2 separate regions of the Homo sapiens genome follow, and region 2 is linked to region 1. Evidence: promoter capture Hi-C in human tissues and cell types (Jung and others, 2019). All regions are on one chromosome and are shown on one strand. Each heading gives the region's core, a stretch centred on a gene start or on the middle of the fragment in contact. The rest is flanking DNA. Distances are from core to core; before and after follow the strand shown.

Region 1 (5,396 bases), core at 1,580-4,079:
TTCATCATCTCTTGCTTGGACCATGGCAATAGCTTCTCACTAGTCCGTATTTCTCTGTGTATGTATAAAATCTATAAGTTACATTTCCTGAAACTTATCTCTGAATCTCTAAACATGGCACATCCCTCCTCATTGGACTGAAGATTCTCAACGTTTCCTTTTAACCTACAGAGTTGAGTAGTAACTTTTCACCCTAACATTCAAATCCCTTGACTCAACCTTCCTTTCTAATTGTCATCCCTTGACATTGGTGTGGGCCCGAATTCGCATCTGGTTCATTGGTTTTCTCCCTGCTTGATGTACACATCATCACCATTTCTACCTCCAGGTATTTGCTCCCACTCTTCCTTCTCCTTTCTTAATGATCCTATAATTTTCCTAGAAAAGCCTTCTTCATTCATAAATAATAAGTTCAGGTCTCATCATCTCTATGAAACTTCAATCTAATCATCTTATCTATGGTGATTAACTCTTTCCTTATTTCCTAATACTGGCAGTGTCTGTATTACTCCAGGTTGGGGTATTAATTGGAGAGGTACAGATTGGGGGGTGGGTAGCCCAGTTAGGGGGCAGTTGCAATATGTTAAGGGAAGAATTGCATGCAGGGGTCAGGGTCTGTGAGAAAAGGAATGGGGGTTGGGCTCTTGCTAAATGGGTGACCAGGGTCATTGGACTCTGGGCTGCTTATGTTGAAGACTGGAAGGGTGGTGCTTTAATGCCTAACTGGCCTGCCATAAAGATTCTTCTACGGAGACTCAGAGGAGACCACCCAGTGGAGAAGACCGGGGCCAATCCACTTTCCCATTCCTTCAAAATGTAAGCCCCACCCTCTGAAATCATGTTCCTTTGTCACCACCAAGCTCATACTCTCAGCTTTGTAATTTCCTTCAAGAAAACACTGGAAGTCAGGTTTTGTACAAAAATATATTTATTTGGTGTAATAGTTACAAAATATTCATTTCCACAATAATATTTTAGCAATGCATTGGAATGTTAAAAAAAATTCTTTGTATTAATGATTCTTGCAAAGACCCTCAAAACATCCCAGGGGTAGAACTGTGGTTCAAGAGGAAAAGCAATTTCCCCAAGTCTCTGTATCTAAAAAACACTAGTACCATGAAAGATAAACTTAAAACATCAATAACTTAAATAAGAATTAACATTACTTAAGGCATAATGTTTCACATCAACAAACAAAATTCATTATAATAAAATAAAACAGGGTGTCTGGGGAAAGCTAGGGGAAAATAAGTTAGCTGCAGATTCTTGGGTTGTGGAGTGAGTGTTCAAGTCTTCGGAGTTTGGGTTTGCTTGTCCAGGTGGTCCATGGAATCCTGAACCCACTTCTGCTTGGGGTCAGCACAGATCTCCTTGGCCACAATGGTCTTGAAGCTGTGGGGAGGGAGGACAGAGTTAGATGAAGTTCCTTTGCAGTTTTGGTCTAGAAGTGCAGCCCATTCTGCACCAAAGGGCTGCCATGGGAGCTAGAGGAGGAACGCAGGTGGAAGGAGGGAACCCAGGGCAAACTGCTCCTATAGGTGTCCAGGTGGAGCCATCCTGACTTCAAGCTAAAGAAATTGGGGTGTTCTGAATAGGCACCCAGGTGGAGAGTGATGTTGGGGTTCACTTTTTCCCTTGGTGCCTCAGTTTTCCCATTGGGAACCTTTGTACATTAAGTTAAATAGTGCACTCTCTGACTCTAGGTTTATGAGGCTTGTCCCTTGCTCCACAAGGAAGAACTTCAGGCCAGGGAAGGTTGGTGTGCTGAACTCACATCACAGCTTCTTTGGGACACTTGCTGCTGGTGATTCTTCTATAGCTCGCGAGCCTCTGCACTGAGATCTTCCTATTGGTGAAGTTATAACAGCAGGTGACTGGGGCATTGATTGCATCTGGAAAATAAACCACAAAGAAAAAGCATTTTAGGATGAACTGGATTATTCTGATCTTAAGAGCAGAAAAGAGTCATGAGGAAAAAGCAAAAGGCAGGCAGGAGAAGACAAAGAGCTCATTAAATCCCAGTGCTTCTGCCTATACCTCAGAGCTAGAATGTGATCTTTGACCCAATGACTCAGTTTCCTATGCTGTAAAATGGGTATATAACATTGATAATGGACAGAGAGAAGGAGGAGCTGTTAAAGCTAGATAATGCCTACAAGTGTCATTAAGACGGACCAATAATCCAGATGATCAGCACCAGGGAAGATCAGCTGGGGAGCCCCACTATGAGCCTCCTTTTAGACTCTGAATAGGCTATGCCTGGTCATGAGTTTCCCTGATACTCATTACCTCTGCAGAGTCACCGTCTCTGGAAGCTAAGGTGAATGAAGCACAGACCAGATTCTGGGTCTCCAGCGTGTCTGGAAACAGCCTACACACCCACCCTCTCTTTGATTACCCTGATCCCCAAACTCTGCTGGAAGCAGCTGGGGGAGTAACTGCGCTGAGTGTGTTCCCAGAGCTGGAATCCTGGAAGGAGCTGGATTTGGGGTTCACAGCTGGAATTCTAGTTCAGGCTCTGCCGAGCAGCAGCTGTGTGGTTGGGCTCACCCCTTGTCCTTTTCTGAGTCACCTTATCTTGGAAAAGTAGCGTTAAAGCAAGACTGTGGGTACCACGTCTGCTTGGATGGTCCATGATAACTCAGAGAGAAGACAATGTGGTTCAAGGAGAAGAAGAGGGGGCCTTACCTGGCTGAGCGAGCCCTTGGGGAATGAAGGTGGCTGCTATGAGCAGCAGGCACAGAAGGGCGGCAGAGACTTTCATGCTGGAGGCGAGAGTGCGAGCTTCAGTTTGAGAATTGGATGTTTCTGGGTTAGTCTCAGCCTCTCGGTTCCTCTGGCTGCTGTCTCTGCCTCTTATTGAAAGCGGGCAGAGGGAGAGAGGGCGGAGTCAAGCAGGAGGAGGGATCTTCCATGAGTGATAAGTGGGCTGTTAAATCTGCTGAGCAAATGCAGCATCCTGTGGATTTCCAGGAAGTAGGAAAGGGAAGCAGGGGGTCAGGACGAGACACTTTTTCCATTCACTGCTGAGACCAAATGAGCAAATGGGGAGGATGGGGTGCCATTAAGCCCAGACTGACCACAGATGTGAACTAAGAGGGTTATTTTTAAGGATTCTGCTTTCTCTGAAGCGAAAACTGCAGAAAAGGAAGGAAGCGAGGAAACTAGATGAAAGCATGTCAGGCTCGCTGCCAGCTTACCTTCAGGCCACATTCCAAGGGGCCTCCCAGCCAGGAAGGAGCTCTCAAGCTTTGGCCGGCTCCCTGACAATGCATTAAATCCATTTGCTCATTCAAATGCAGAATAGTAGCATCATAGAAGCCTAGCAGAACTGTAGGATTGTGTAAACATTGAACTGAATTCTAAGAGTTCTAGGGTTTCAGACTTGGACAAAGGCATAGACAGCATGTAGTGCTGCAGAAGAAATGCCAGTGTCATACTCACAGAGTGCTTACTCTGCCAGGAATATTCTCAGACCTTTACAAATATTAACTCTGTAAATTCCCCAACTTTATCTAGTAGGGATTGCTAATTTTCATGTTATAGATCAGGCAACTGAGGCACAGAAGGGTTAAATAGCCTGCTCAAGGTCCCCTCGAGCACAGAACCCAGGCAGCCCTGTCCCCAGTGGGCTGCCACCTCTCTGACATACTGCTGGAAGGAAACGTGTACAAGTCCTCCAACTAGTTGCCTGCTTGGGTCCTCTCTCTGTCCTCAGCATCTTCCAAATGGGCAGACAGCTAAAGGAGAATCTAGAAACATTCCTCATGGCTAAGTCATTATGAGTTAGGAGGCTGTTGCTAGCATAGCAGGCAGCAGTGGACAAGAAGTTCATCCCTGGTTATGGCAGCTATTCTCCTGGCTTCCTTCTTAATTTCCAAGGGACATGAGTAAGCAGTGGAGGAGTATTTCGGGAATTGGAAAGCCTGACTTCATTCCTCAGTTGTGCCTTAGATTTCCTCAGAAACTACAGAAGCACACTGATAAAAACCCAAAGACCTTAGAATTCATTTCAGTGAACTGTTGTCTCTTACAAATATGATAGGAGTACTTGAGGCATGTTAATGGCTGGGCTGAGTTTAAAATTCTGATCTCTCGATTCTCCTAGCCCACTGCCTCCTCCTTCTGAGCCTTGCGGTGCCCTTGCCCAATGGGCATACAAAGACTAGTGACTTCTTTCATAAAGGGTCACTGAGGCAATGTCTATAAATGCATGGGGTTTCTTGAAAGAAAACACTTTTCACTACACTTGTAAAAAGAAACGGGTTGTATTCAACAAATGACTGTTTTATTTCTAGTAAGTGGTCAGTAATGGCATTGTTGAGTGCATTCAGGGAGTCAGGTATGGTGCTGACATACTTTCCAGCGCTGCCTGCCCAGTCCTCCAACCAACCCAGCTTTCGTTAGGTTAAAACTGAAGTTATTTGTCCAGTAACTCAGACAGAATAGTAGATGTGCTGAGACTCCCACCCAGGATGTTTCCATTCCAGAATCTCTTCTTCCTGGGACTAGACTTGATGTCTCATGATGGATATTGGTTTCCTGGAGAATCCCAGAGCAGAGACTCTATGGAGTGGCCATTTCAGACTCTGGTGGAATTACAAAAAGCAGGATGAAGAGAGAACAAATCAACTCGAGCCCTGCTTTGCTTGTGCCTCTTGAGGAGCCTTATTCTTGTTCTGCCTGAATCTCACTAGTTACTCCTTTTCTCCCCAACCAGTGTTGAAACTTCTCTGTGTTTGTCTCAGTCCTCTGCTCATGCCTCAATCCATTCTTATCCAATGAATAAAATGTTTCCAGGACTAGAGACTGTGCAACTTTGTGTAGGAATTTCTTCCTAGGCCATCTCACCTCATCTTCCAAGAAGTTTTCCTCATATCAGGGGAAACCTCTCTCTAATCAGTTAGTGCATCCTTTACCATGAACTTGGTGGACCGCATTCAATTTCCCTTTATAATCCAGTCATGCTTCGGGTTTTCTCTAGGTTAACAAGCTGAAAGATGCTGAGATCTTTAAATAAGTCTCTCCTGGCTTAGTCATATCAGCATCACTCATAGAATCCCAGAATCAATGGGCTTATAGACATCCTGTGGCATGACCACTTGTTTTTATCTGATAAAGCCACAATCCAGAGAAGGAGACCAATTAGCCCATGGTCACAGAGAAAAACTTCCCAGCTTTGCTGGCTGAGTGTTCACATAGGCTTCTGAGTGTTGGAAGCATGTCTCTACTTCAGGAAGGAGTTGTCATCTCTGGAAAGTGACTTGGCCTTTGCATATATCAGACAGTAAACACAGGGAAGGTGAAGGGTATGAATCAGAAAAGAAAGTCTTCTGGAAAGTGATAGCTGTCTGCCTCCCACTTCTGCTCTGTCAAGAAAAGATGCCCTCCCCCGC
Region 2 (5,396 bases), core at 1,004-3,503, 280 kb after region 1:
CTGAGACTGAATTAGACCAAGTAACACTCGTACCATTTCAAAGCACCTTTAGATGAATCATATTGTTAAACTCACTCAACAGTTATTTGAGAAAGGGATTAATACCCCATTTACAGATGATCTTGGATCTGTAAATGATCCAAGATCATCTGTAAATGGGGTATTAATATATAAGGAGACCAGGGAAGGCTTCATTGAAAACGTGACATTCGAGCAGATGATCCAAGAGCGTCCATCCAATTTGAGGGCAGAGAAGTTTAAAAAGGGGAGGTCTGAAGATAGGCAAAGGATAAGCCAGATTTCCAGTTGAGGAGGCCATCCAGTGATTAGAGATTTTGGGGGTACTGAGAAGAATTTGGGGAAATCTTCAACATGGTACCGTAAAAGGAGAGACTTACATTCCTGAGGATTAAATGTAGGCTGAGAAGCCCAGACAGCAAAGAACAGAGCCTTGTGGGATGACTTCATTCAATGAACAGGGAAAGAAGAGGTGAGGTGCACAGAAGGAAGAGACAGAAATGTAGGCAAACATCATTGACAGGGCAATGATGTGGGAGCCAAACCAAAGAGAGGAAGCATCTAGGAGAGGAAATTATTGATGGGACCAGAACAGAGAGATGAGATCAAGGTCTCCAGCCGAGTCAAACAGATTTTGGTAGGCTTGCCTGGAACTCTCTTTACTATTTATGACCTTGATTCCATGGGAGCATGAGTTATTAAATCCAAAAAATTGATGTGTCAAATTGATTTTCAGGTCCTGGCCCACTGAGACTTGTCAGCATTTTTTTTCTTTTCTGTTCATGTCTTTGGCTCTGACTTTCCTAGAAAACAGATCATGACTTTGGGTTTCCTTAAATGAAAGTGGTTCAGATTGCAGAGGTGGGTCTAGGACAAGGGGTTGAAAGGGGGAGAGAGGAAGATAGAGGGCGAAGATTGAGCCATCTTCCCCTGGAAGAGGACTAGACTGGGCCTCCACCTCAGGAGGCCCAACCCTTTATTTGGGCTCTGATCCCTGCTTCTGTTCAGGCTTTGCCATCCCATATCAGCAAAGGGGCTTCCATCCTGGGGAGGGAGAAAGGATCCACAGGGAAGAACAGGAGACGGTCTCAATTAGGATTAGTGGCCAAAACCAACTGAGGTCAACTTTCAAGCATGATTTCATACATTCATTCATTCAACAAATATTTAGTGAGTGCCTGCCACGTGTCAGACACTATCCTGAGCACTGGCAATATACCAATGAATAAAGCAGACACAAATGTCTGGCCTCAGGGAACTTACATTCTAGTGGGGAGAGATGGCCAACACACCACATAAATAAGTAAATTAGATGATACAATTGTTAAAACATGATAAAGTACTATGGAGAAAATTGAAGCAGGAGAGGAAGACAGGAAAAGCTGAGGGATGAGGGTGGGGCTGCAAGTTTATATAGGGAAACCAGGGAAGGCATCATTTAAAAGATGACATTCGAGTAGACTTGTAGGACTTAGACACAGATGTGAATGGATGGATACTGGGCAATCCACAAAATCAGAACTAAGGCTAAAATAGGTGTGGCCTCACAAAAGAGAGGAATCAGGAACCTCTGAGTATCTAGGATGGAGGAATTCATGGGCACTGTCTTTGTGGCAGGGCTCTATGGATGGATGGATGGATGGATGGATGGATGGATGGATGGATAGATAGGTTCCTATCACCTAACAGCACTCAATTCAGGTCAGTGTCTAGGAAAAGAGAAGCTGGCTGGACTTGCCTAAGTCTCCTGTCCACCTGCCGGGCAGCATACCTTGATGGATACCACCACTGAGACTGCATGCCGCCAGATGGAGGGTGACTGCCCAAGGAAAAATCCAGGGATAGGGCTGGGGTGCCAGGCAGGCAAAGCCAGCTGAGGTTGTACACACATACATACACACACATAAGCACAATGGCTGCTGGAGTAAGACACCAAAGAGAAGTGAGCTCAGAGATCTTTAAATCTGCTTCCTTAACGTTGTAGCTGAAGACACTGAGACTTGGGAATTGGGAGGGAATTACTCATGGTCACCTATTCAGGAAAGGGGAAGTTTGGTAATAGACTGCAGGGCTCCTGACTTGCAAGCCAGACTGCTTTCCACTTCCCAGAGCTTCCAGAGAGCACAGGAGGTTTGAGGAGAAAAAAAAAACCTAAGAAAGCATCTCACAGAATCGTCCCATTTCCCAGCTGAAGAAACTGAAGCCGGGAAGAAGACTGAGTGAATGGGGATTAGTGGACGGAAAAAGGCAGGAAATTTTGGAGGACAGAGTAGAAGGTGGAAAATCAGAACTTTCCTTCCCCTGGACCAGGTGGGAGGATGATGCATGGAGATGTCTTAAGCAAATGTTTCGAGCTCTCCTGGGGTAAGGGGAGTGGGACTGGCAAGGCATCCCTGAGGCCCAGGGCAACCAAGCAGGCCCTGTTTGGGTGTCCTGTGCTCCACAGGAAACACCCCAAGGATCACAGCAAATACGCTTACCCAGAGGAGAACCTGTTTGCAATCTAGGCCAAATCCTATTTGCTTTAATAAGCCTGTGTGTAAACGATGGGCTGTGGCTTATGTCCCATGGCAGCCTGGTGGGGTGAGTGAGCAGGAACAAGCCACTCCTCTCTGTGTCTATATGTTCAGGAGGTCGCTTGATTCAAAGTCAAATACACCCCAGAGTAGAGAGAGAGCTGCGGAGTTCCATTTGGTGTGACACTGTAATTGAAAGTTAGAGCGCTCCTGCCTACCCAATCTTCACTCTGGAATTTGCATCCCTGCCCTGCTGGGCAGTGAGAAAAGCACTCAATTGCCCAAGTCTGGGCCTATTGCTACAGGAGGAAGCATGGTTTGGCCATTCTGCCAGGGCTCTTTAAGCACAGCTTCTATCCTCTCCACCCGCCCCCAACAATGGCAGCTTGCCTCCGCCTGCACCTGAATGGGAAGCTAGGAACCACAGCCCCTCTGTTGATGTCTCCACTGGGTTGTGCTGGCTGCTCTCCCTAGATCCTAAATCCTTGGCTCCTAGCATCTGCTTCTGATCCCTTCAGCTGAATAACCCTTGGCCCTTTGGTAGCTTCTGGGATTTGGACTACAACTCAGAGCTGAGCTCTGTGTGTTCCACCTCAGTCTCTGTGGAGAAGGTTTCTGCTCCTGCTTCCAGCCCAGAAACTCTAGCAGCCAAGCCCAAGAGATGATGCAGAGATTCAGATCATCCCCTCTTTGGGTAGAGATTCCCTCACTGTGGGTGTGCCACATTCAGGGCTGGCCCTAGGCATAACTCTGGTGCTGACCACCTGACCTGGGTTAGTTCTGTCAGCACATCCCTCTTTCAGTCTCAGTCTCTGATTTGCACAGAAGGAAACTGTGACCCAGAGAGGGAGGAAGCTTGGCAAGGTTTGTCTGCATTTGCAGTCTCCTTTTCTCCAGTGCTGGCTGGCTGGGACTCTTTCATTGTCTGCGACGGGGCCCAAGTCCCCACAGTGTGTTATGAGACCTAAAGCTTGTGTTAACACGCTTATTCTTCATCAAAAGTGACCTGTTCTGTGTTCTCTTTTTGAGGATTAGCCATGTGGCAGGAGCTAGTCTTATAAACTAATCCTTAGTAAGGCGTGATGTGTGATCACAGACAACTAATTGAGCTTTTCACACCTTAGCTTGAGGGAGTGGAAGGTGCAAATTTCAAGCAATAAAGGATTTTTGGATTTTTTTGTTTTGTTTTGTTTTTCCAAACAGAGAATGCTTCTTGATGCTCCTTAAAGCATGCTGTATAGTCAGAAACCACATAGCTGGACCAGTCCTACGCAAAGAACTAGCGGACCATTAATCTAAGCCTAGAGATCACTGGAGCTCTGGGCAATACTGACCTTTGTTTGTTTTGTTTTTAAAGAAACAGAAACTACTCTTTTAGAGTTTAGAGCCCACAGAGAGACTGGATGTGAGTATTTTTCTATCGTCCTTCCTGTCATGCATTCAGTAACTAAATCAATCGTCAAATGTATATTGGTCACCTACTGTACATCAAGTTCTCTTTTGGGACCTTTGGGGGATTCATACATGGACAAGGCATGACTCTCCATCCTTAAGACATCATGTGACATGTTTGGTAAGTAAGGTGTATAATGTTGATGACATTGATAATATTAACTTAACATTTATTAGTCTATAGTTTATAGTTGTTCCCAACATTATTCAACCTTTGAAGACTTTGTTTCTTTATCTGTAAGGAGGAGGTGGTGATACCATTAATCCCCCATCCCGCATTGTTGGGAAAATCGCCTGAGGTTACAAATGGGAAAGCACTTAGTAACTGTAAGAACGCTGAGCCTGGTGGTTATTATTATTACTTCTGTTGTTTTTCTCAGTCTCGGGGAAGAATTATTACTAATGTCAACAGAATCACAGCTTCTATTTACAGGAAGACAGGCCAAGAATTTCAATCCCTTGTCCCTCTCCCAATTAAATCATGGATGCAGATTGTTCTAAATCCATCACAAGGTCTGGGTCTGAAGATCCAAGTTTGAGTCCCAGCTCTGTATAATCTTATCAAAGCCTCTTAATCTTTTTGGGTTATAATTTTTTTTTCACAAATACAGATGAAATAGGTAGATTCGTAGGTAGAAAATGTTCTAATTCTGTGTTTGTGTGTCCTTACATGTATATGGGCATGTCCTGACACAATCTTGCATTTCCAAAGAGTTCATTCCAGCAAAAGTCATCCCTTGCTTCTTCCCCACCTCTCTTCTCTTCAGAGGAATGTTCATTATGCATGAATGGGAGGGCAGGGACAGGGATTCACAAACTGTCACTTTCAGGAGCTGGTGTGTGAGCGTATGTTTGTGTATGCATTTGTGTGTGTGCATATGTGTGAAATGTTCTCCTGGTTGCCTTTAGACTTGCCGTTGCTCTTCTCCAGGTGCCAAATATTCTCTCAAGCCTTCTGAAGGTTGCAGCAGGGGCCAGGCCAGAGAACAGAGGTTTCTCTGCTTCTGCTTGGTGTTTTATCGTGTTTTGACCAGGTAGGCTACTGCACTGACAACCCAGGAAACGAAGGCAGGAGAGCTGGTGTGCCGCTAGCACAGCCGGCTTGGAGCCCCACTGTCTTTGGATTCTGTGCTCAGCCGGCTTCTGTATTTGGCTGTGAATCATTTCTGCTGGAGGACTGCGTGCCACTGTGTGCCCTTTGAGTGGTGTGCGCATTGCACACGCATCCTGGAGGGAAGCATAAAGAAATGGGAGTGGAGGAAGCAGCCCAGAGGAGAAATGCAACCCTGTTACGCCCAAGTTTGGCTTCTCAGATTTGATGGATGATAGGTATAGCAAAGGCAGGCTGGCTACCTCTTTTGCAGGACTGAAGGGCGATGAATCTGCTGTCAGCACGAGTGACTCAGACAC

The links. The method cuts DNA at HindIII sites, captures the fragments that hold promoters and counts their contacts. A contact is called where the count stands out against the background at its distance.
Region 2: a fragment that was not itself captured here is called in contact with the fragment with the promoter of CCL2 in region 1 in 1 of the 25 tissues and cell types used here (mesendoderm cells).

The regions. Positions count from the first base shown.
Region 1 is chr17:34,252,718-34,258,113 of GRCh38, reverse strand. It overlaps CCL2 (C-C motif chemokine ligand 2), which reads right to left and starts at 2,829. Exons shown (of 3, transcript NM_002982.4): 1 at 2,689-2,829; 2 at 1,775-1,892; 3 at 911-1,392. The coding sequence starts at 2,764. The coding sequence ends at 1,287. RefSeq lists enhancers at 2,158-3,132, 3,133-4,107, 5,051-5,396. The HindIII fragment of the contact is 9,151 bases long and covers 1-4,889 here.
Region 2 is chr17:33,970,893-33,976,288 of GRCh38, reverse strand. All of the region lies in intron 1 of LOC107985038 (a long non-coding RNA gene), which reads left to right. It also overlaps a transcript of ASIC2 not described here. Among named protein-coding and RNA genes, the nearest start is that of LINC01989, 210 kb to the left of the region's middle. The HindIII fragment of the contact is 6,895 bases long and covers 1-5,396 here.